6 separate regions of the Homo sapiens genome follow, and regions 1, 3, 4, 5 and 6 are each linked to region 2. Evidence: promoter capture Hi-C in 16 types of primary human blood cells and fetal thymus (Javierre and others, 2016). All regions are on one chromosome and are shown on one strand. Each heading gives the region's core, a stretch centred on a gene start or on the middle of the fragment in contact. The rest is flanking DNA. Distances are from core to core; before and after follow the strand shown. Region 1 overlaps POLR3B (RNA polymerase III subunit B). Region 2 holds the start of PWP1 (PWP1 homolog, endonuclein). Region 3 overlaps UNG (uracil DNA glycosylase). Region 4 holds the start of ACACB (acetyl-CoA carboxylase beta). Region 5 holds the start of CORO1C (coronin 1C). Region 6 has its middle 5.3 kb from the start of TCP11L2.

The links. Contacts are between HindIII fragments. The CHiCAGO score rates a contact against its expected background, and 5 or more counts as called.
Region 1: a fragment that was not itself captured here is called in contact with the fragment with the promoter of PWP1 in region 2 in 1 of 17 cell types (total CD8 T cells); the score reaches 6.3 in total CD8 T cells.
Region 3: a contact is called between a fragment that was not itself captured here and the fragment with the promoter of PWP1 in region 2, in 4 of 17 cell types (naive CD4 T cells, fetal thymus, total CD8 T cells and 1 more). The highest score is 10.6, in naive CD4 T cells.
Region 4: a contact is called between the fragment with the promoter of ACACB here and the fragment with the promoter of PWP1 in region 2, in 1 of 17 cell types (total B cells). The highest score is 6.4, in total B cells.
Region 5: the fragment with the promoter of CORO1C here is called in contact with the fragment with the promoter of PWP1 in region 2 in 1 of 17 cell types (naive CD4 T cells); the score reaches 5.3 in naive CD4 T cells.
Region 6: a fragment that was not itself captured here is called in contact with the fragment with the promoter of PWP1 in region 2 in 1 of 17 cell types (fetal thymus); the score reaches 5.8 in fetal thymus.

What each region holds. Positions count from the first base shown.
Region 1 is chr12:106,359,612-106,363,840 of GRCh38, reverse strand. The region is part of intron 1 of POLR3B (RNA polymerase III subunit B); the gene reads right to left. Among named protein-coding and RNA genes, the nearest start is that of POLR3B, 4.0 kb to the right of the region's middle. The HindIII fragment of the contact is 1,854 bases long and covers 1,288-3,141 here.
Region 2 is chr12:107,683,314-107,687,048 of GRCh38, reverse strand. PWP1 (PWP1 homolog, endonuclein) reads right to left here and starts at 1,250. Exons shown (of 15, transcript NM_007062.3): 1 at 1,078-1,250. The coding sequence starts at 1,149. RefSeq lists enhancers at 912-961, 1,182-1,441. The HindIII fragment of the contact is 3,419 bases long and covers 1-1,594 here.
Region 3 is chr12:109,097,950-109,101,729 of GRCh38, reverse strand. UNG (uracil DNA glycosylase) reads right to left here. Exons shown (of 7, transcript NM_080911.3): 2 at 3,092-3,298; 3 at 2,446-2,541. Among named protein-coding and RNA genes, the nearest start is that of UNG, 2.2 kb to the right of the region's middle. RefSeq lists a silencer at 3,565-3,780. The HindIII fragment of the contact is 1,375 bases long and covers 1,237-2,611 here.
Region 4 is chr12:109,114,354-109,118,589 of GRCh38, reverse strand. It overlaps ACACB (acetyl-CoA carboxylase beta), which reads right to left and starts at 2,003. Exons shown (of 53, transcript NM_001093.4): 1 at 1,886-2,003. The HindIII fragment of the contact is 11,769 bases long and covers 1-4,236 here.
Region 5 is chr12:108,729,076-108,732,951 of GRCh38, reverse strand. CORO1C (coronin 1C) reads left to right here and starts at 1,434. Exons shown (of 11, transcript NM_014325.4): 1 at 1,434-1,523. RefSeq lists an enhancer at 760-1,563 and silencers at 1,176-1,685, 1,876-2,155. The HindIII fragment of the contact is 3,828 bases long and covers 224-3,876 here.
Region 6 is chr12:106,295,516-106,299,264 of GRCh38, reverse strand. It overlaps a transcript of TCP11L2 not described here. Among named protein-coding and RNA genes, the nearest start is that of TCP11L2, 5.3 kb to the left of the region's middle. The HindIII fragment of the contact is 4,525 bases long and covers 1-3,749 here.

The sequences.
Region 1 (4,229 bases), core at 965-3,464, 1.3 Mb after region 2:
ACTCTGTACCAGCAACAGTACTTTCATAAGTTATTTTAATGTTCCAAAATAAGCAAAGGAAAGTAAATCAAAACAAAAAGAATAATTTTTAAACATTTTTATGGAAATCACATGTGTGCATATGCATATAAATATGTATACACATACATACATACACTACAGGTTTCCTAAACAGAATATAACTTAATCTCTTCCTGATGACTCAAGATTTTAAGCACTTTTCAATCCTTTATTTTATTCTCATGACACTTCCTAAGTGAAGTTTGCCAGTTTGAGAAAAGGAAAATAAGGCTCAGAGAGTCTGGTGGGAGAGCTGGGTCTCAAGACCCAAAGGGAGTTCTTTCTCCCTCCCATTCTCTCTCAACTACTGTCTGGTCAGAGCTCATCTCAGGGCTACAGAAGGATGACACATATGGTGATTGCTTCCTACATTGCCTGAGCAACTAGAGGGATAGAGTTAAAATTGATGGAGGCGAGGAACATTGTAGGAATAGCAGGTTTAGGTGTGGAGGGGCTACTAGAAATTTGGTTTGGGTGTGTTAAGCTTGAGATCTCCATTAGACATTCAGGTGGAAATGTCAAGGAGGCAACAAATGAGTCTTGAATTCGGGAATGGAGTGGCCTGGAGATATAAACTAGGAAGAGATTAACAAGTGGATGGCAATTAAAGGCACGTGATGGATGAGATCACCTATGGAATGTAGATGGAGAAGAGTTCCACAAAGTGAGACCAACCAAGAATAATCCAACAATCAGAGAGGAGGAGCAGGAGGCAGCTCCAGCAAAGGAGACCGAGGAGTGGCCAGGGAAGGTGGCAGACCCCTGGGTATAGTCAAAAACAAGAGAGGCAGGCAAAGCTAATCTATGATGACGGAAATCAAAAGGTGCTTGGGGGGATAGACTGAAAAGGGTCATAAGGGAACTTTCTGGGGTGATGCAATGTCCACATAGAGCACATAACTATAAAACCAATGTAACTGAATATCTAGTATCCATACATTTTATTATATAAATTACACCTAAATTTAAAAATAGAAGAATGACAATGATATAGGTTGAATTGTGTCCCTCTCAAAATTCATATGCTAAAGTCCTAATCCCCAGTATCTCAGAATGTGACTGTTTTTGAAGATGGGGTCTTGACAAAGGTGATTAAGTAAAATGAGTCATTAAGGTGAGCCCTAATCCAATACAACTGGTGTCCTTATAAAAAAGGAGAAATTGGACATAGAGATGCACACAGGGACAATGCCATGTGAAGATGAAGGTAGAGGTCTCAGTGAAGCTTCTGCAAGCCAAGGGATGCCAAAGATTGCCAGCAAACACCTGTAGTAGGGGACGGCCCAGAGCAGATCCTCTCTCATAGCCCTCAGAAGGAGCCAGCTCTGTTGTCACCCTGATCTCAGACTTCTAACTTCCAGAACTATGAGAAAACAAATTTCTGTTGTTTAAGCCACCTAGTTTGTGGTTACTTTGTTACGGCAGCCCTATGAGCTAATACTCCCACATCTTCAAATTCCTCTCTCTACACCCCTTCTTATACTCGTTTCCTCCCACTTCAAAGGAAGGACCATCCATTCCTTGGTCTAAGGCTAACCCTTCCGCCACAGACACAATCCTGCCAACCTTCTCCTGAAGACTGGAAACCTTGCCCCAGTTCAGTCCTTGATATTCAACCTGTTCTATTTAAAACGAGTATTCAAATCCTCCCATTAAAAAAAAAATTTAAAACTTTCTTGACTCAGCAGCTCCTCTGACTACTTTCTTCCCTGCCCTTCAGCTTACGATCTCTCCCAAATTACTCCATATTTAGCTTCTCTGTTCCTCACTTCCCACTCCTTCATTCCGTTATAGTCAGGACTCTGACCTACCTGCCAGTGAAAGAGCTCGACAGAGGTCACCAAGGCTGCTACTTCAAAAGACCTCCCTTGATGCCCCCTCACATTCCCTTTCCACAGTATTTGGCCATGCCGATCACTGTCTTATAACACTCTGTGGTATCATTCTCTTATGTCTTTCCTTCCTCCGGCCGGGCCTTGTCACACCTCTTTTTCTCTGCCACCCTGCAAATTTTGGTGTTCTTCAAAGTTCTATCCCTGGCGATGTCTTTTCTCAAGTAGGGCTGGGAATGGAGGATTTCAAACAACACTGTTTGAAAGTGTTGTTTAGCTTCCCCCATCTCATCCCACAGCCCCCCAGTTCCAAATGTGGGCTCTTTCAAGGGCAGTGACCCTGTCTATCCTGTTACCACAGTGCCTGGCACATAAAAGACTCCAATAAATACTGAATAAATAAATGAGTGAGTGAATATCACTGTTGCAGTAAGCTACTGGGTATGGGCCTGTCCCCTCCAACTATTGACTGGGCAGTGATACCTTACAGCCTCAGAGGCTACTTAAGATCAGTATGTCCAAAATTAAATCTTCCCCCAGCTCCATTCTCAATCTCAATGAATATCACCATTTATCCCAGTCAATCCCAAATTAGATACCCGGGAGTCCTAACTTTCTGACTCTTCTTAATCAACAGGAAAACAAAAATTCTACTGAGTCGACCTCCTTTTAACCTTCCTCGCATTTATCCTCTGCTCCTGTGCCAGTTGAGGCCCTCATAATCTTTCAGCTGGTCTGCGGCAATACTTCCTTACTACTCTTCCTGCTCGTCCCTTTCAATGCTCAGCACTAAAGCCAGTGTACATGTCCTCATGTGCACAGCTGAGCACCTCATTCTCTACAACTCTTCAGTGCCTCCCCACCCTCTTCACCATGTCTTAACTCCACAGCGAGGCATACATCATATGCTGTGCTTGCAGCTGTACTTGTGCCTACGCCTCCTCCTTCTATCTGGAATGCTTCCGCACCACCACACTTCATCCACATCTGGCAAACTCAGTTCAGGCATCACATCCTAGCTACCATTTGTAATACCAAAATACCCCTCGCCTACTTGTATCACAGTACCTATTGCATGTTATTCCACTTGCTTACACGTCTCTCTCTATAAGCCTATAACACACTGGGAGGCAGAAAACACATTTTTTGAACTTGTATAAACCCTGTGAATAATACACCACCAGGTAAGTACTCAGTAACACTGACAAATATTTATTCAACAAGTAACTGATTAATTGGCTCCAAAGCTTGTGTTGTTTCTACCATACTACCATGCTGCTGTGCTACCATAAGCACAAAAAAATACACACCAGGCATGGCCAGTTCAAGTAAAACTGAGCTCCTAACTAGAAAAAGTTGCAGCGAAAACACTGAAGTTGGAAAGTTTAAGTAAATATTTTAATATCTCAATTTAAAAGGAAATGGCAGCAAGTAGCAGAGATCTACCATCTTCTGGGAGAATCAGGAAAGGCCTTCCTAGGGAAGTTATATTATAGATATGTGGGATTTAATCTACAAATAGGAAGGGGAGAGCGATCCAGAAGAAACTGAGCAGAGTAGAAAGATCTCAGGGGAGGGAGAGGGGGGAACCATGGGAAAAGAGACTAGAGAAGTAAGCACTGGTCAGACTGAGGAAATTTATTACAAACATGGTAAACACTAGATTTTGCCCTAAGAGCAATAGGCAGAGATTGAAGAACTTTAACCAAGGGAGCAACATAACCATGTTTGTGTGTTTAAACGGACAGCTCTGGCTGCAGAGCAAGGAACAGACTGGATTGGGACAAGTCAGGTGCCAGGTAGGCCAGTTAGGAAGTAAGAGAGGACAGTCGTTCTGGGCTGGAAAACGGTGGGAATGAAGTTTCAGATATGCATAGATTAAGAACTCAGGACTTTTTAGAGGTGATGGTGGATTGGATACAGAGTGCAGGAAGAGGAACTGTTATTCTTCAATCAGAAGGCTGGAATTATAGCACTGTTCACTTCATAGCTGTGTAAATTCAGATAAGAAATAGAAATCTCCCAGGCTTATTTCTTCAGCTCTCTGGAGAAGCGGTCCGATAGCAGTTAGGGATGAAGACTCGAGTCAGACTGACAAGAGTCCAAATTCCAGATTAGCCACTACCAGGCTTCTAATGCAAGGCTATTTACTTAACATCTTTGGGCCTCTCTGGCAAAATGGGGGTGAAAATAGTACTTATTTCAGAGGATTAAATAACATAATGCATGTTATGGTTAAACAGAACCTGGCACATTAGCAAGTGCTCAGTGAATGCTGGCTCTTTGATATTCACTTTTCACGGTTAAAATACAGTTTTGCAGCCGGGCACGGTGGCT
Region 2 (3,735 bases), core at 1-2,500:
ATACTATATGTGCACATGTCGACTCCATAAAGGCAGGGTCTTTTTCTATTTTTTTTTTTTTTTTTTTTTTTTTTTTTTTGAGACGGAGTCTCACTCTGTTGCCCGCCCAGGCTGGAGTGCAGCTGTGCGATCTCGGCTCACTGCAAGCTCCGCCTCCCGGGTTCACGCCATTCTCCTGCCTCAGCCTCCCGAGTAGCTGGGACTACAGGCATCCACCACCACACCCGGCTAATTTTTTGTATTTTTAGTAGAGACGGGGTTTCACCGTGTTAGCCAGGATGCTCTCGATCTCCTGACCTCGTGATCCGCCCGCCTTGGCCTCCCAAAGTGCTGGGATTACAGGCGTGAGCCACCGCGCCCGGCGGGACTTTTTCTATTTTGTTCATGCCTATCCCAGGACCCTGAACAATGCCTGGCCTACAGAAAGCACTTAGTATCCAATGAGGAAATTACTTAAGTAATCGTCACCTCTGCTACAGTCTCAGTCTCCAACTCTTGTAGGTTTTTCATGTGTTAGACATTTACCTCTCATCCTCCCTGCTACCATCAACATCTCACTTGGATTACTGCAAGAAATTCCCTATTCATCTCCCAGCCTCACGACATCTTAGCCTCCACACCAGTTTTTCTACACCACATTCATCCTCACTCCTTCAGACACGGAGCACAAGAGTGGAAAGTGGAGTTTTCATGCTCTCTTCCCAGTTATGCTTGAAAATGCACTTGGGTGCTAGTGAAGCTAGTGGTGTTGTCAAAAAGCCTTTTGGGGTATTACCCACCAAAAACAGCAGCCCACCCCTTTCCGGCCCGCTAAGTCCATGTGCGTGCGAATTTGGGAGTGGGGTTGGGCTTGAGGGTGGGAACAGTGAGAAGGCGCGGCCCTTGACTCTCCAGGCTCAGGCGAACCAGACCTTCTGAACTGCAGCTCTAGTCGCGACAATCCGGGCAAAGCCGCCCTCACCCCAGCCAGTCGCACCAGCCAACGCCCCGAGTTCCGGGTCCACGTTCCCCCAGCTGGGCGGACCCCCAGTGCCGTAAAGACGCTGCTCCCCTTGTCTCCCAGCGACCAGGCCTCACCTTGTCTGGTGTCTCTTTGGCCACGCCGCAGCGGACCCAGGCCACGCACGTCACCTGGCGGCTGCGGTTCATGGTCCTCAAGTCAAGGGCGTGTCACGCTAGAAACCAGGCTGCATAGGGAGGGACCACGACCGCACTGCTGCCACACGCTCAGGGATCTGCACAGGGCCGCTGCCAGGGCAGAGCGCATGCGCAGGCTCCTGTTTGGGCAGCGTCGGCGCTCATTTCAGACGTCATTCTGAGGCGCCGAATGAGAAATAGGAGGGGACAAAATGGAAGCGGAAGCAGCCGGGCGAGGAATCCACGTGGGCTGGTCTGGGCTGTGTGAAGTATAGAGAAAAGGCTTTTCAGGACTGCATGTGACGATGCCTGCGGGCTTTGTAAAGGCCAAGAAAATATTTGGGACTGTAGGGGTCAGTCAGAAGCAAAGTTTCACCAATCTTTATTTTGCTTGCAGTTCCGTAGACTTCAAGCTGACAAATGGCAGAGGTTTGTGGTTTGCGTTTTTTAAAAAGCTTTCTCCAAAATGAATTTGTCGTTTCACGGAGATCCCACCATTACATCTCATTACATCCCTAAATGTTACTTTCTCACCTTAAAACATTTAGCACCAAAAAAAAAAGTGAGAAAAAAACATTTAGCACCAATTATATACTAACTATGCAGTAGTGATTTAGTCTTGGCAAACACAAAGGGCTTACTTATGTTGAAGGCGCTGTTTTGAGTGCCGTATCACGTGATTACTTACCCCTTTGTGGGAGGTCTTATTTCCGTTTTACACCTGGGAAAACAGCGATCCTTCCAAAGGTCACACTGCTAGTAAGCGGTGCAGCTGGGATATGAACCCGGGCAGTGTGACTCCCTTGTATCTATGTCATGCTTCTCAGCTAAGATCAGTCATCTGTTAGAACTCGTGAGTGGCTGGACGTTTGTAGAATGGAAAATCTCAAACTAGCATCCCAGAAAAATCTGGGTTTTGATCTCTTGGCTGTGTGGCCCTGTCCTGGTCATTTACCCTCAATGCATCTACCTCTGAGAGAGGCAAGCAAAAGAAACAGGAAGGTGGCTGCTATGGGGAAACAGTGGCAAGGATAAACTGGCAGTACACATGGTCTTTCCCAGTGGCATTGTCAAACGGGGGGTGTCCACCTGTGGGCTCTATTCGGGGACCTTTTTGCAACACATTTATCTTTCTATACAGTATTTTACTTGGTTCTCACAACACTTTGTTTTAAAGATGAAGCTAGAGTCCCCAGTAGTCAAATACTTTCCTACTCAGATCACACACAGAGGAGCTGATACAACTATGAGTTCTGTCACCAACTCTACTCAGCCTAATGCGCTTGGCAATCTCCCTGCCTGAGGAGAGATCCTCCCAGAAGTAAATTGCTCATTGTTTGTGTAGGCAGATTATTTGTCCATTAAGACTTCTCCCCCTGCTCTGTTTCTGTAAGATGATTCTTCTGTGGTTTCTTTGCTTTTAACCCATTTTAGAAAGACCATATGGCAGATAATATTTTTCAAGGATGGCTGCAACAATAGAGTCCTTCACACATGTTTGTCTGCAACGTGATCTTGATATTCCTCCATCAAAGCACCCCCCCCCGCCCCCACCAACTTGAATCTGGGTAGTTGTAGGTCTGCTTTGGCCAATAAAGTATGACAGAAATGATGTTTCCAAGGTTAAGTCATAAATAGGATGCAGGTTTTGCTTCCCCACCACCACACCCACTTCTCCACTTCCACACCCCCCACCCACTCCCCCACTGCCCACCAGTAGAACACTAATGTTTGGAGCCCTGAGCCACCATATAAAGTTTGGCTACTGTGGTAGTCTGTTCTCACACTGCTAATAAAGACATACCCAAGACATGATAATTTATAAAGAAAAAGAGGTTTAATGGACTCACAGTTTCAGTTGGCTGGGGAAGCCTCACAATCACTGCAGAAGGCAAAAGAGAAGAAAGGCATGTCTTACATGGCAGCAGGCAAGAAGAGAGCATGTGCAGGGGAACTCCCCTTTATAAAACTATCAGATCTCAGCTGGGTGCAGTGGCTCATGCCTGTAATCCCAGCACTTTGGGAGGCCGAGGCAGTTGGATTACAAGGTCAGGAGTTCTAGACAAGCCTGGCCAACGTAGTGAAACCCCGTCTCTACTAAAAATATAAAACTTAGCCGGGCATGGTGGTGCATACCTGTAGTCTCAGCTACTTGGGAGGCTGAGGCAGGAGAATCACCTGAACCCAGGAGGCGGAGGTTGCAGTAAGCCGAAATCGCACTGCTGCACTCCAGCCCGGGCAACAGATCAAGACTCTGTCTCAAAAAATAAAAATAAATAAAAATAAATTAATTAATTAATAAAACCATCAGATCTCATGAGACTTATTATCATGAGAAAAGCACAGGAAAACGCCGCCCGTATGATTCAATTACCTCTCACTGGGTCCCTCCTATAACACATGGGGATTATGACAATTCAAGGTGAGATTTGGGTAAGGACACAGATCCCAAACCATATCAGCTACCCTGAGTCCACTATGCTGTTAGGAAACCAAACCACATGGAGAGACCACATGTGGTACTCCAGTAGACAGTTGTAGTTTTTGAGTTAACCCAGACCTGTAAATGAAAGTGCCTTTAGGTGAATCCAGCTCCCA
Region 3 (3,780 bases), core at 675-3,174, 1.4 Mb before region 2:
AGCTGCTTTTTTAATTTTTTGAGACACGGTTTTGCTGTGTTGCTCAGGCTGATGTGCAGTGGTGCCATCACAGCTCATGGCAGCCTCGCCCTCCTGGGCTCAAGTGGTCCTCCCACCTGAGCCTCCAGAGTAGCTGGGCCCACAGGAGTGCACCACTATGCCCACCTAATTTTTTTTTTACTTTTTGTAGACACACGGCCTCCCTTATGTTGCTGAGGCTGGTCTCAAATTCCTGAGATCAAGGGATCCTCCCTCCTCGGCCTCCCAAAATGCTGGGATTACAGGCATGAGCCACTGTGCCTAGCCCCCAGTTACTTTTCGATGAATTAAAGCAATTTAGGGCCTGGCATGGTGGCTCACGCCTGTAATCCCAGCACTTTGGGAGGCCGAGGTAGGCAGATCACGAGGTCAAGATATCGAAACCATCTGGCCAACATGGTGAAACCCCATCTCTACTAAAAATACAAAAATTAGCTGGGTGTGGTGGCGCACACCTGTAGTCCCAGCTACTCGGGAGGCTGAGGCAGGAGAATCGCTTGAACCCAGGGGGTGGAGGTTGCAGTAAGCCGAGATTGCACCACTGCACTCCATCTCAAAAAAAAAAAAAAAAAAAAAAAAAAAAAGCAATTCAGATTTCCCACCAGCAGCATATGAGGGTGTCTGCTCCCCTATATCCTCTAACAGGTGGAGCCAGAAGAGAATGAGGTCAGATCAAAAGGGCCATGGGAGTAGGTGGCAAGAGACAATGAAATGAAATGAAGTTCCTGTCACGGGAGGTGTTGAAACATAGGCCGCCTCGTCCTTCCCATCCAGGGCCCACCCACCTAGTCTTCATTCTCAAGCTTCTGCCATTGCGTTCTTAGAATCTTCCTCCACAGCTGACATACTCTATCTTTCAGAATCCAGCTCCAGATGTTCCATGACCAGGAGGCTTTTGGGGACCTCTTGTCCCTCCCCTTGGTGTTCACACCATGCCAACATATTCTCTTGTGAAACAACTCTCCCAATGCTGGTCTGTCAAGAAGCCCTGCTGGCCCATCTGATCCTCATAGGTTTGAAACTGGTTTTTGAGCATTCCCTCAAAATATTCCTTTTAATATTCCCTGTTTATACTGATTACTGGTATTCAGAATAGGGCATTCAAACAAGAAGCAAATTAGTATTGATCTTAATAGGATTTAATTTAGCTTCAAAACCAAAGAGCTAGATTCTAAATTCTTACTCTAAAATTAAGCTTACGAGATTTTCTAAGTATTAGGTGTGGCTGCCTTATCAAGATGATTTATTCACCTATTTCACTTCTATGTCATTTCACAGATATTCATTAAATCACAAGATTCTTGCCCCAGTTTACAAAACGGGGGAGGAAAACGGGTAAGAAACCTAAAAGTCCAGTGTCAGCAGGTGCTAAATGCATCGTAGCAGCTCAGAGGAAAACTGGATCACAGAGGTGGCAGGCAACGGACTTCAATTCAAGGAGGTGCCACAGAGGCATCTACTTGATTTTTAAGAGACAGAAGTGGGGAGGGGTTTGCCACACTGTCCAACTCTGGAGTGGGAGAGTGGGAGGTGGAGGTAAGGCTGAGAGGTAGGACGTGGCCCTATTTAAAGAGGGTTGCTCTGCTTTCATAGTTCAACAGTGAGAAGCCACGGTTTTTTTTTTGTTTTGAGACAGGGTCTGGCTCTGTCGCCCACGCTGGAGTGAAGTGGTGTGATCTCAGCTCACTGCAACCTCCGCCTCCTGGGCTCATGCGATTCTCCCACCTCAGCCTCCCAAGTAGCTGGAATTACAGGCGTGCGCCACCATGCCCGGCTAATTTTTGTATTTTAGGAGAGACCAGGTTTCATTGGTCTTGAACTCCTGACCTCAAATGATCCTCCCACTTTGGCCTCCGAAAGTGCTGGGATTACAGGCATGAGCCACCGTGCCCAGCCCCACGAACTTCTGAACACAAGATGGATGAGAGCCGCCAACCAGCAACTGTTATATAAGACAAACTAAAGCAAAGGGATCTGATAACAGAACCACAAAACTGTTCAGGCCAGAAGTCAAGAGCTTGAAAGTGCTAACTATAAGGCAGTGTGGTCAGGTCAAGGTGGGGTTGACTATAACAAGCTGCAAAAGATTTAACTGCTTTGTGTGTCAGTTTGAACTTCACCACCACCATAACATCTGACACCGCGGGAGGTTAGTTTCAGGATTTAAAAAAAATACAAGAAATAAGAGCACAGGATGTACATAGTTTTCCTTTTTGCCACATAAATACCACGTGGTAAACATTAAAAAGAGTAAATACAGGCTGAAATACAGTCAGCCAAACCTCGGGATTTCAGTGTTTTATTTACTACTGAATGATGGACTGTGGCTTAACTCCAGTGTCCCTAATTTAAAAATACTATTTGACTCCTTCTCCCCAATAAAAATTATCAACAAGTTGTACTTACATCTTTTATGTCACACATCTGGGTCCAGGTGAAGACTTGGTGTGGGGGTGGATAAACAGTGTAATGCTTTCTTTCTTCTGCAACAAATCCCATTAGCTGATTTAAAGATAAACTAGACTTAAAATCAGATTCTCATTGGAAACCATAAGAATTCAATAAGAAAGCTTCTAGTGCAAGTTATTTGGAACATCATTAGTTCTTTGTCATGTTATGTCCAAATTCTTTTAAAAAACAACAAACAAAAACAGTGCCTGCCCCCCCACCTAAGTGGTTCAATCAGGTCAATTCCTTGCCTCTTTCTCTGGGCTGGGTCCTGACAGTGCCACTCCTCTCGGCTTTTTAAAGCTCAAGCCAGGTTTCATTCAGGATGGTTGGTGATTTTACTACGCCAGCCTTTCCTGGACAATAGACTATGTGACTTAAATGAATCCATGATATCATCTCGCGGGTCGTTAACAACTTTAACCAATATAAAGCTGCAGAGTGAAACATCATGGCTTTCTTTTACCCCCTTTGTGAGTAAAGGAGGTTGAAGGGGGTACAACCTAAGCCTACGGAAACATGAACTTGGCCGGCTACACTAACAAGACAAAAGGGCCGGCAGCCTCCACATTTACCCTTATGGAAGGTGCATTTCCATATTTACCTTGATAAAATACGGTTTCCCGAACTCCCCGCTGAGGTGCTTCTTCCAGCTCTCTCCAAAGCCCACGGGCACGTTGCGGGCCGCGAGTCTGAGCAGGGCCGCGGCCTTGTTCCTCTGGATCCGGTCCAACTGCTCGGCACTCAGCGGCGAGGAGGGCGGCGTCCCAGGCTCCTCCTGCCCAGCCGGGGCCTTCTTGGCTGGGATGGCCTGCAAGTGGTCCCCGCAGAGGCGGCTCAAGAGCTGCAGCGGCCCCTTCCCAGGCGTCCGCAGCTTCCGGCCCAACCCCCACGGCCCAAGGCAGAAGACGCCCATTTGTGGAACAGGTCCCAGCAAAAGCGGACAGTAAGAGCCCAGGGCTGGGCCCGGTCCGGGAATTGGGAATTAGGTTCTAAACTGGAGCGGGGAGACGGGCTGGGAGGCGCCCTATGGCTTCCCGAGGAGCGTCGCGGTGACTGGGAACCCTGCACAGAGGTGCCCCGCCCCCGCCAGACCCGCCCCACCGCGTCCCCACGTGGTCTTTTCGCGGCAAAAAACCTCCCTCTGGGTCCCGCCCCCTCTCCCCTCTGATTGGACAGCGCACCGAGCCAGGAGGGCCTGCGGCGCGCGGATTGGCGCCATGGGCCCCGAGACGCGTTCCCATTGGCTGGCCCTTTAGCATGGCGGCCCATGGGGGACAGCGGCGGCTATTT
Region 4 (4,236 bases), core at 754-3,253, 1.4 Mb before region 2:
ATACAAAAATTAGCTGGGCGTGGTAGTGCTTGCCTGCAATCCCAGCTACTCGGGAGACTGAGACTGAGGAATTGCTTGAACCTGGGAGGCAGGGGTTGCAGTGAGCTGAGATTGTGCCATCGCACTCCAGCCTGGGTGACAGGACGAGACTCTGTCTCAAAAAAAAAAAAAAAAAAAGAACAAGGTCAAAGTTTCTACTGGGATAAGACTTCAAGGAAACCTCCATTTCAAAAGATTAAAATGTTTATTTCCCCATGAAGACTGGGTATCTCATGTAATGTAATACTCAAATTTCTGTCTCAGACCTAAAGGTGTTGAAAGTATGAGCGAGTTTACACAACACCTGAGCAGGAGCAAATAAAACTCTTAAGAGCTTCTGAAAGAAAGTTACAGATTAGAGATATTTTCATCTCTAAATCACATGAATTAGGATTGGCTGGGTCTTTCCACTTAAAACTTGGAGAAGTCATAAAAAGAAATCTTGTAAAGAACTCCATGTCACTATTAGCAGAAACATGCAATTTATAAAATGATATCTTTGGCCAGGCGCGGTGGCTCATGCCTGTAATCCCAGCACTCTGGGAGGCCGAGGCGGGCGGATCACTTGAGGTCAGGAGATCGAGACCATCCTGGCTAACACAGTGAAACCCTGTCTCTACTAAAAATACAAAAAAAATTAGCCGGGCGTGGTAGTGGGTGCCTGTAGTCCCAGCTACTTGGGAGGCTGAGGCAGGAGAATGGCGTGAACCCAGGAGGCGGAGCTTGCAGTGAGCACTCCATCTCAAATAATAATGATAATAATAATATCTTCACCTTTCAGTTTTTAAATTGCAAGTCCCATGTCCCGGGAATTCCCCGGTCCTGGGCAAAGTGGGATGGTTGGTCACCCAACCTATATGGATGCCCATTGATATTAAAAAATAAAAGTAATCACAATAGACATGAGGGAGAGAGTTGTGTACAGTGTGAGTGTACAGAATAAAAGGTCTGGGGGGTTTATACCAAAATGTGCACAGTGGCTACCTGGAGGAGGAGGGTTAGACAGGAATAACAGCAAGGAGACTTTTGCACGGTGCTGAGTGACTTTTTAACTTGCATATTATTTTGGAATGCATTTTTTCAACATTGAAAGAAAGTCATGTCTTCCTAGAAATATAGGATATAGGACCACTACAAACGCTTTACTCTTAGTCTCCTTTTTTTCTTTTTCTTTTCTTTTTTTTTTTTTTTGAGACAGAGTCTTGCTCTGTCAGTCAGGCTGGAATGCAGTGGCGCAATTTTAGCTCACTGCAACCCCCACCTCCTGGGTTCAAGCGATTCTCCTGCCTCAGCCTCCCAAGTAGCTGGGATTACAGGTGCCCATCACCACATCTGGCTAATTTTTATGTGTTTAGTACAGATGGGGTTTCGCCATGTTGGCCAGGCTGGTCTCGAACTCCTGACCTCAAGTGATCCACCTGCCTCTGCCTCCCAAGGTGCTGGGTGGCATGAGCCACCGTGCCCAGCCTTAGTCTGCTTTAAAAAAAAAAAAAAAAAAAAAAAGAACAACCATTTGAGGAAACAGAAACAGAATACTATTCCTTAAGACAGTAGCTTTGGAGGCAAAAAACAGAATTGTTTATAAAACGTTGTGGAACTTATATGGGAGCATGTCCAGGGATCCACACCACCATTTATAGAAGCAAAGAAAGGCCCTTCTCTTTCATCTGCGTTACATTTCGAGCTCTTCTGATTAGCTTCCTTCAAACATGACGGGAGTCGTTTTTCCCCGGGGACCCCAAGTGCATGCCTTCAGACAGGGTCTGCTCTCACTATACATTGGGTTCGAATTTACCTGGACGTTGGCAGAATGGTCCGGACCCCGGGGAGGGGCGAGCTGACTTACCACTTTATTCCTGCCGCTTTTCTCTTGCCATGTCCTCCCCACCGTGCATTCAGGGTTACATTTTCCAGGTTCCTTGTTTGCTGAGGGCCTGAATCTAAGCCTGCTAGCTGCTTACTCTGGGGACTGCAAATGTCACTTTTAGATTAATCAGCCCCTGCTGTTTAAAAATATCCCTGGAGCACTTAACCTTCAAAGCAGCAACAACCCGGGGCAAAGATGAGAAAGATCCCACGTCAAACCACTTGTGCAGCCCTGGCTACTCCTGGGAGAGTTCTGCTATCTGCCTTTTAATCCCATAACTCGCTTTATTTCATAATTCTTAGCTGTTGAAGCCATGAGGCATCTAAAGTCCATGTTGTCGTAAGCAGTAGGCAGAAAGTCATCTGGGCCCTCCTGTGACATGCTGAAAATTAACTGCCTACAGGTGTTGGTCATTTGAGAAACAAGCCCCCATTGAAAACCGTGAATGGGAAGGTGATCGCTATCAGGTCACCTGGCTTCTCTCCCCTGAAAAGATTTGGCGAAACCCTCTCAAATCACGCCACTTAATGGAATGTTTCCAATTTCTTGTGACTTGGGGATAAAAGAAAAAAACAGCTCCATTGCCACATTCTCATTCAGGGTTGACTGGCTCTTGCTAGGGTTGAGCACAGAAGAGGAAATTCAGCACACGCTGCAGTTACATAGTGTTCTGCAACGTGGGGAGGGCTGGCATGTGGGACAAAGGTCGCCTCCAAGGCCCAGCTGGAGAAGCCCAGCCAACTAGGCAGCAGGAAAGTGGAGACCACATAGGAGCACATTGTGCTCAGGCAACAGGGAAGGTGGAACCCACTTCCTGCCAACAATGATGGCCTTACTAAACAGCAAGTGGAGAAACTGGCGAGAGCGCTGAGCACGGGATCTGTGCAAAATGGTTTAAATGGAAATTGCTGCTGGGGCTGGTGCAGCCTGTTCACAGCTACTTTGTTTCTGGGCTTATTTTGCAATAAGGAACAGTCATTGAATATTGGACTTCTTGGGATTTTCTCCACTGGACTTGGAAGCATGTGCTCTGGAAACCTCAGCATTATCAGCTGTAACCCCACAGCACCAGGTACATGTTACAGGAACCGGGGTGAAGGAATGCAGGTCAAATGCCTGCACAATGCCCGGCCCGAGTCATATGTTCTCTAGCCACAGTAGCCCTTGTGATGGCTCTTAGTCTATTTATTAAGACAATAAAAGAGGTGACTCTCAAACAAACCTATGTTTCCAGGGAGAGCCATCTGTGATTCAAGGACATTTTTATAAAATTCCATTGAAAAAAATTCTTAGGCTTCTAACTTCATGAAAAAAAAATTCTTTCCCAGTGATTCCAAATAATCATGATCTAGGCAGGGTGTTGACAGTGGCAGGACTATTAGGCTTTGAAATCAAGCTGATGTGGGTTTGAATCCTCCCTCCATTAGCCATGACTTTGAGCAAATGGCTGAGCTTCAGTGTCCTCATCAACTACTTCACCATATGGGTGAGAAAATGAAATGATTTATATTGAGTTTCTGGCACAGGGGCTTGCTCATGACAAGCACTTAATATCTTTCTAATGAAATTCATTACTTGCAAAAAGACTAGACATACCCACACATACAGGTGAAGAACTCTGCAGTGATTCAGTTCTCCCTAGACACTATCTCTTTAAGACACAGGTATTTTCCAGAATATAATTGGAAGGCTTGAAACCAAAGTTATTCATAAACTCTTTCCATCAAACACAAGAACGGTAATAGAAATATATTTCTTCAAACAGCTGTTAGTTTCAGAAAGTCACAGGTATCAAGTTACATTTTTTGTTTTGTTTTGTTTTGTTTTAGAAATAGGATCTTGCTCTGTTGCCCAGGCTGGATGGAGTGCAGTGGCATGATCATAGCTCACTGCAGCCTCGAACTCCTGGGCTCAAATGATCCTCCTGCCTCAGCTTCCCAAGTAGCTAGAACTACAGGCACACACCACCCCTGGCTAATTAAAAAAAAAAAAATTTTTTTTTTTTAAAGACAAGGTCTCATTATGTTGCCCAAGTTGGTCTTGAACTCCTGGCCTAAAGCGATCTTCTTGCCTTGCCTCCTAAAGCACTGGGATTACAGGTATGAGCCACTGTACCTGGCCCAAAAAAAATTATTAAGTGACCACATGGTCTAACAAAACAAGGCACCTGGAAAGAAATCACCAGTCCTGCTGCAAACCGGACCCTCTGTGAGAATTCACATGCCTTCCCCCACCAATTAAATCAGAATTTCCAGGGATGGGGTCTGGCTTTGCATGTTTTAGCTTCTCTAGGCTGGAGGAGCACTAGCTTCTTGTTGGAAGGCTCCCTA
Region 5 (3,876 bases), core at 185-2,684, 1.0 Mb before region 2:
AGGAACTCTTCTAAGTATATTACTATTATCCTGGTGCAAAAGTAATCGCGGTTTTTGCCATTCCTTTTAATGGCAAAAAGTAATGCCACGATCATGGCTGCTAATATGATCTCATGGAACCCTGTGAGGGAGGGGCTGTTATCCCCATTTTACAGATAAAGAAACTGACCCTTAGAGAGGATAAATAATTTGCTGTGATAGCTGTCTTAGTTCAGGTCAAGCTTGATTTAAATAACACACGTTTCTGAGGCTGACGCTTAAAATAAAAAATCCCCCTGTGAATGGCAAAGATGCCTTGCTTTGGGAAGTAAATAGCCCTACCCCACAGTCGGTTCGGTTCCCCAGGCTCTGTTTCCTCAAATCTCGGTATTTCAGAGCTTGGTGTTTCAGAAAGGGACTTTAGCTATTAACAGGACAACTTCTTCATGCTGAAGATTAGGGGACTCAGGCCCAAAGAGGTAAGAGAACTGTCCCAGGTCACACAGTCTGACGGCCGCAGAGCTGAGGCTCAAATTCCCGTGCTCCGACTTTCAGGCCTGGGCCGCCGAGTTATTAAGGGACTCTGGCCAGGGAAAGGAAGGGAGGAACCCTGAAGTTTCCATTCCCTCACCTGCGAAATGGGGTCAATCACGGGCCCTCTTTGGGGTTACGTGGGTGTGGCCCAGCCCAGGGGCGGCCACTCTGCACTAGGAATGTGACAATGGACGGTTCAGGGAGGGCTGGAACGTCGGCAGTCCTCAAGGGAGGTGGTGGTAGGGTGTGACGGAGCCAGGGCGGAGCCTCGGGAGCCAGAGGCGTGGATTCGCGAATTCGGGGCGGGGCTTGGGGTTTAAACGTTGAGATGGGGTAGTGGGCGGGGCTTGAGATGCTAGGAATAGGGTTGCGGTCCTTGGGCGGGGCTTCTGGAAGACGGGGCGGGGCTTTGTGAGGCCGCTGGGCGAGTTCTGAAGCAGTGGGAGGGGAGCCGGGCTTAGGGAAGCAGGAGGCTGGTTTAAGGACTCGGATAGGCAGTGCGCGGGGCTCAGAGGAGCTAATGTTCCTGTATTGAGGGGCTCTGGGGGAATCTTTGAGGAGCCAGGGGACGTGGCCTTGCAGAGCCTAGCGGGTCAGTGGGCGGGGCTCTAAGAACCCCGCTCCGGGGTCTAAGGAGCAGTGGGCGTTGCTCGGAGGCGCCTGTGGGCGTGGCCCTCTACCACTCAGATGACTGGAGAGCGGGGCGTGCGCTTGGGCACCGCCTGCATCCCTCGGTGCGACCAGAGGGGGCGTAGCGAGGCGTGGAACGTGGGGTGGGAAGCGGGCTTCCCCTCCGGAAGTGGGCGTGGCGCACAGCGGCCCGGCAGCCCTGGTTGGGTCCCGCGCGGCGCGGGGGCGGGGCCTACGCGCGGTGGCGGGGGCGGTGGCGGCTGCCCGCGCCCCTCCCCCGCACGGCGCTCAGTGCCAGGCTGGAGGCGGCAGCGGTTGGAGGCTTCGCCCGGCTTTGCAGCGGGGACTTCGGCGGCGGCGCCTCAGGCACCTCGGCCCGGGTGAGCGGCTCGCGCCCGGCGGGGGCAGCCTGAGAGCGAGTCGGGCGGGCGGACCTGTCCTCTGAGCATGTGCCTGCGCCGCCTGACAGGAGCCGGCGGGGCGAGGGGCAGGGCTAGGTGGAGGGGACAGTGCTGGGTGGGCGCGCGGGGCGCGGGTTCACGGGCTGGGTTGCAAGGGGTTAGGGCCGGGGGCTGCTGTCGGGGGCTCGGGGAAAGGGAGTTGGGGACCGAACCAGGTGGCGTGGGGAGCGTGAAGCAGGGTCCCTGTGGGGAGGAGGCTTTCGAGGTCCGGAACGCTCCTGGCCGGGTGCGGAGCCGCGGGCCGAGGTGGGACGAGGCTGCCCAGGGAAGGCTTTTAGGGGTCAGGGATCGCCTGCTTGGGCGAGGTGCTGGGAGGGAAGGGCTGCTTCGGGCGAGGCGTAGAGCCCGGGGGCTCCAGGCCTGGGGACTGGGTTTGGGCCGCCCCAGGGAACGAGTGGGTGGGGGCGGGTAGGGGCCGGGCTCACGTGGGGCCGGGGCGAGCTGGGCCCTGCGTCGGGAGGGGCGAGGGCGGCCGCCTGGCCTGCGGGTTTCCTGGCTTTGGGTGCGAGACCAGCTCTGGGCCCTGCAGATCTCGGTTGGGGGTCAGGCGGGGCGGGGCAGAGCTGGAGCTGGAGTAATGTGGGTGGGGGCGGCTTGGGAAGAGGCTGAGCCCGGCCAAGGGAGCAGAGGGCTGGGACTGGCTGGGGGTTGGGAGGGGAGGAACGAAGCAGGAAGGCTGTCGGATCGGGGGCCCAGGGTGTCCGAGTGAACTGGGTGATTCAGAGGTGTGTTTCCCTAATAGCGGGGCAGCTGGCGAGGGACGCAGTAAAAAGGAGCGAGGTGCAGGTGGGGCCCCGCTGCGCCGAAATGACTGAGGATGAGGTCAGACGTGGAGGGTGGGAATGCAGAAACCGAGCTCTCCCGCCTGTCCCCACCGGCGCACGCTCCCCAGCTCTCCGTCTCTCAAATGATTTGAATGTGTTGGGGGAAGTGGCAGGCTGCGGTGAGAGCTGAGAAGAAAGGGGCTTCCTCTTGGAGGGAGGCGCTGGCCCTGGCATCCTTTTTTGGGAGTGTTCAAAGGATTTTGAACGCTGGAAAAGGAATCGTAGGCTTTACTGCATCACGATTTAGAAACACATCCTATATTTGGCCGTAATGTAGGCTGCCCTTGTTTTGTGGTGTCTAAAGTGCTTGCTCTACATGTTGCAAACGTGGGATTCAGAGTGCGAAGCAAATTGCAAGTTGTTCATTTCCCCCGGCATGGTAAGATACAAAGGCTTTTCCCTCCTATAAGACATTTGAAAAGAATTGAATGTAGTGCGCGTTTAATAAACTGGTCCTGGGTGGCGAATATATTTACTTTTGGAAATAGTTACCACAAAATATTAGGCCCTCTTACCGCAGCCTTTCTGCCTGGGATTACATTCTAAAACAGTACTTGTAGGGCTCTTAGTCACTCTATATAATAATGCATCTCATTGTCCTTATCTGGCAGAACGTTCTCCTGACACCAGGGCCTGCTGGAATAGACAGAAACATGATTAAGTATAAGCAGTTGCTTTGTACCGTCTGTTCAGTTGTGAAGGCAAATAGATACCTGTTTAATATTAATTCACTTTCTGCATTCCCTGTAAAACTGAAGAAATGTGCAAAATCTATTTTGGACTTGGTTCTATACATTTCAGATGATTTAAGGAAACTAGTATTTTTGGTTTGGAGGTATGTTTCACAGTCATAATGTTTGGCTATGAAGCATAATAGTAAACATTGGATCTGAGAAATCGCATAAATAAGTAGGGAAAAAAGTGAAATAAAACTGAGAATTGTGTTGTACCTTAGGTCTTGAAGTGCAGTGTTTCGTGGTGGAGGTTAGTCGTGTGTACTGAGGATTGGACAAAGATTTGGTATAAACGTCAGGAGCACACATTTTTGACAAATATAGAACCTATCTTGTCCATATTTATTTTGATTACTTGTGGAAGGTACATTAAAGCCTGATGAATTTTAATAGATACATACCGATGAAACATAACTGCACACAATATTGACTTTTTCATGATCCTTTGTTACTTTGCCTGCAGATTGTGCTAATCAGCATTTATACTTATTTATATATAGTTTAGGATTAGATTCGGTGTCAGTGAATAGCATTTTTTTAAACACCGTTGGATTTTTTGATAAAAGTTTTATGTTTAACTTATCTGTCACTTCTGGGATCCACTCCAACCATGAGGAAGAGAGTCACTCTAACGACTATGAGATGGAATGTTCAAAAGGATGAATATCAATTCTTAGTTATATAAGTGGGTATGTCGACGAGTCTCTTCTTTAT
Region 6 (3,749 bases), core at 658-3,157, 1.4 Mb after region 2:
GTATCCCAGGTCTTATGGCTCATTAAAAAATTTTCAAGAGTAATTTTCACTGCACTTTGACCTCATGGTCTTCCTTAAGAGCCTAACCCCTCCTGTAAGATGTGACTCCATTGTAATTGAAAAAAACAAAAACAAAAAGCAAAAAAATGGGCTGGGCATGGTGGCTCAGGCCTGTAATCTCAGCACTTTGGGAGGCTGAGGTGGGTGGATCACCTGAAGTCATGAGTTCGAGACCAGCCTGACCAACATAGTGAAACCCTGTCTCTACTAAATACAAAAAATTAGCCAGGCATGGTGTGCATACCTCTAATCCCAAATACTTGGGAGGCTGAGGCAGGAGAATCACTTGAACCCAGGAGGCAGAGGTTGCAGTGAGCCAGGATTGCACCATTGCACTCCGGCCTGGGCAACAAGAGTGAAACCTGGTCTCACAAAAAAAAATGGCCGGGCATGGTGGTTCACACCTATAATCCCAGCAGTTTGGGAGGCCGAGGCAGGTGGATAACTTGAGGTCAGGAGTTTGAGACCAGCCTGACCAACATGGCAAAACCTCATCTCTACTAAAAATACAAAAAATTAGTTGGGCGTGGTGGCACACACCTGTAATCCCAGCTACTTGGGAGGCTGAGGCAGGAGAATTGCTTGAACCTGGGGGGCGGAGGTTGCAGTGAGCTGAGATTTCACCACTGCACTCCAGCCTGGGCAACAGAGCGAGACTTTGTCTCAAAAAAAATTTTAAACTAAAAATTAAATTAAAAAAAATGTTTTTCAAAGGAATCCCACTTCTTTTCTCTCCCCTGTCCATCTTCAGGTGCTACAGAAAGGGCCAAAAATCAGTGAGGGGGAAAATACAATAGAAAGCAAAAAGAAGAAAATGAATTTGGCTAATACACCAACTAGAGAATTAGGCCCTGAATGTTCAAAAATTAACTGCATACCTCCTACTCAATTTTACTGTGAGCTCTAAAAATAAGGTCTATTAAAAAAAATTAACCACACCTTTTAGGCAATTTTTTTTTGTTCTATATCCTGTGATTTGGAAGATAAGGTAGATTTAGATAATTGACCAGTTTTGACTATTAATTGATGCTTGAACAATTTTCCAAAGCACCAAAACCAGTTTTCTTTTGACTCCACTGAACTGAATTAGTAAAAAAATTAACAGTTATTTCTCATTTCAATTGCCTGTACCTTCACATTTAGGCACTGCCCAGTCCCTGACCCTGTCACATACTAAAAAGACAAATATTCTTAGTGCTCCCTACACCCCACCCTGGGCCCCTTCCTCTTACCTGGGCACCACTGTTGTCCCCTGGGAAGCAGAAAGAGTGAGAACCAGCAGTGAAGACAACTTTGGGGCAGGAAGTGGGAGGGGCCAAAGAGAGTTGAAGCTCAAAGGAACACCTATGGGAGGCCAAACAGGTGATGGCTCAGACCTCTGACCAAGCCAGTCACTCTCTTTAGCTCATCTCCAGGCCAGCAGGCAATCAACCATTTTCTAAATGATTGCTTTTCTAAAGTGTTCATGGATGAACACAGGCCCTCAGTTTTAAAATCAAATGAAATTGTCAAATGGGCATGAGGAAGAGCTACTAAAATAAGATGCAATCTCCAGAAAACATAAAGGAAGGATTAAGAAATGTGACTTTTTAGGTACACGATTCAACATGAAAACATGAGTTACAGAACACTGATTATGGGGTGACACGATTTATGCTAGAGAGAGCTTACACTAGAGACAGTACATATGCATTGTGTGTATATGAAATACATAGAAATGGACTAAAAAGAATCTCAACCGTTTAGAAGGCTATTTAGGCAAGTTAGTTCCTGGTTTATTCCGTACACATTCAAGCAGCTTATTTCTTTTACAATGAGAATGTCATTCATATATTACTAGTCTATTTCACACTGCCATACAATGCAACTATTCTTATTATTGTATGTCCTCCTAAATATACCTTAGTGAAGATAGGCTATTGATACTGCACAATAAGCAAATTTCCCATCTCTTTTTTATTCATATTTAAGAAAGCCATGACAACAAATGGAGCTTTTCATGTAAAATATATGAAAGAATAGATTTACAAAAAGTCCCTCACTATGATATGTCAAAATTATTAATGCTGGGTGGGGGAATATTGATCTTTACTTTTTAAGTTCTTCTCCTCAAGCCCTATTCTTCGATAGCCAAAGTGCATGGAGTTTGCTTTCATTTTAAACATGTTTTTTGCCCCAAACTCTGACCTCTAAAACCTTCCCTTTCTTTGATGATAAACTGGACAAATGTCCTTTCTCAAAGTTATATGGGACTTTAATAATTATACTACCTTTTTTTTGTTGTTTCTTTTTTTTGAGACAGAGTCTCACTCTGTCAGCCAGATTGGAGTTCAGTGGCATGATCTCGGCTCACTGCAACCTCTGCCTCCCGAGCTCAGGCGATTCTTTTGCCTTAGCCTCCTGAGTAGCTGGAATCACAGATGTGTGCCATCACGCCTGGCTAATATTTTGTATTTTTAGTAGAGATGGGGTTTCACCATGTTGGCTAGGCTGGTCTCGAACTCCTGACCTCAAGTGATCCACCCCTTGGCCTCCCAAAGTGCTGGGATTACAGGCATCAGCCACCACACCCAGCCGTACATTTTGAAGACAAAAAAATTGAGAGCTCTGAACATTCAAATGCCTGAATAGTAGCTTTTACCTGAGTTCCTGGGCATTCTAGAGGAAGGTCATATACTAGGGCACTAAGGGTTTATGTTGACTAAAGGGATACTCAGCAGTGACTCACTCAGTTGGCAGGTCAAGAATAGAAACCAGAAGAACTCACTTCATGGCTTCTCTCCGCAAATACACACATATACACGTGCAGTGTCACATGCAAAGTATTACCTATTGGCATAATTATCTAATTTCCATAACAACATATCAACAAGCATACCAGCTCTGTACCAACTAAGTGCCCAAAGTATTTATAATCACATTCCATTACTCTAGAAGGGTGCCTGGACCAGATACTGGGGTGGCTGTGCCTTCTAGAAAGCAAGAATGGAATGCAGCTTTATACAAAAATATGAAGCTGTTTACATAGATATATATTCACCCGCACACATGCACACACGAAACATTTCTGGCCAATTCCCTCAGAGGGATCCCAAGCCATGCCATTGTTTATGTTACATGTACATCTGCATGTATATTATCAGTAAATTCCCACAAAGCTCAGTATAGGCTGGGCGCAGTGGCTCATTCCTGTAATCCCAGCATTTTGGGAGGCCGAGGTGGGCGGATCAACTGAGGTCAGGAGTTCAAGACCAGCCTGGTCAGCATGGTGAAACCCCGTCTCTATTAAAAATACAAAAAATTAGCTGGGCGTGGTGGCGCACTCCTGTAGTCCCAGCTATTTGGGAGGCTGAGGCAGGAGAATCACTTGAACCCAGGAGGCAGAGGCTGCAGTGAGCCAAGATCACGCCACTACACTTTTGCCTGGGTGGCAGAGTGAAACTCAGTCTAAAAAAAAAAAAATGCTCGGTGTAACATAATTATACAAATAAATTTAATTTTAATGCTGAAGCTGAATTCTTTATTTAAAGGAAGACCTCTGTGATGATATGTGGACGTTTAAAAAAATGACTTTTTAAAAGTTACAAGCATTACGTAGATCAAAATTTTCAAAGAATTAATCAACTGAGGTACAAAATAATTGTATATAATGAGGAAATGTGGTATGGTGGAAAGAGGGTGGGCTTTGG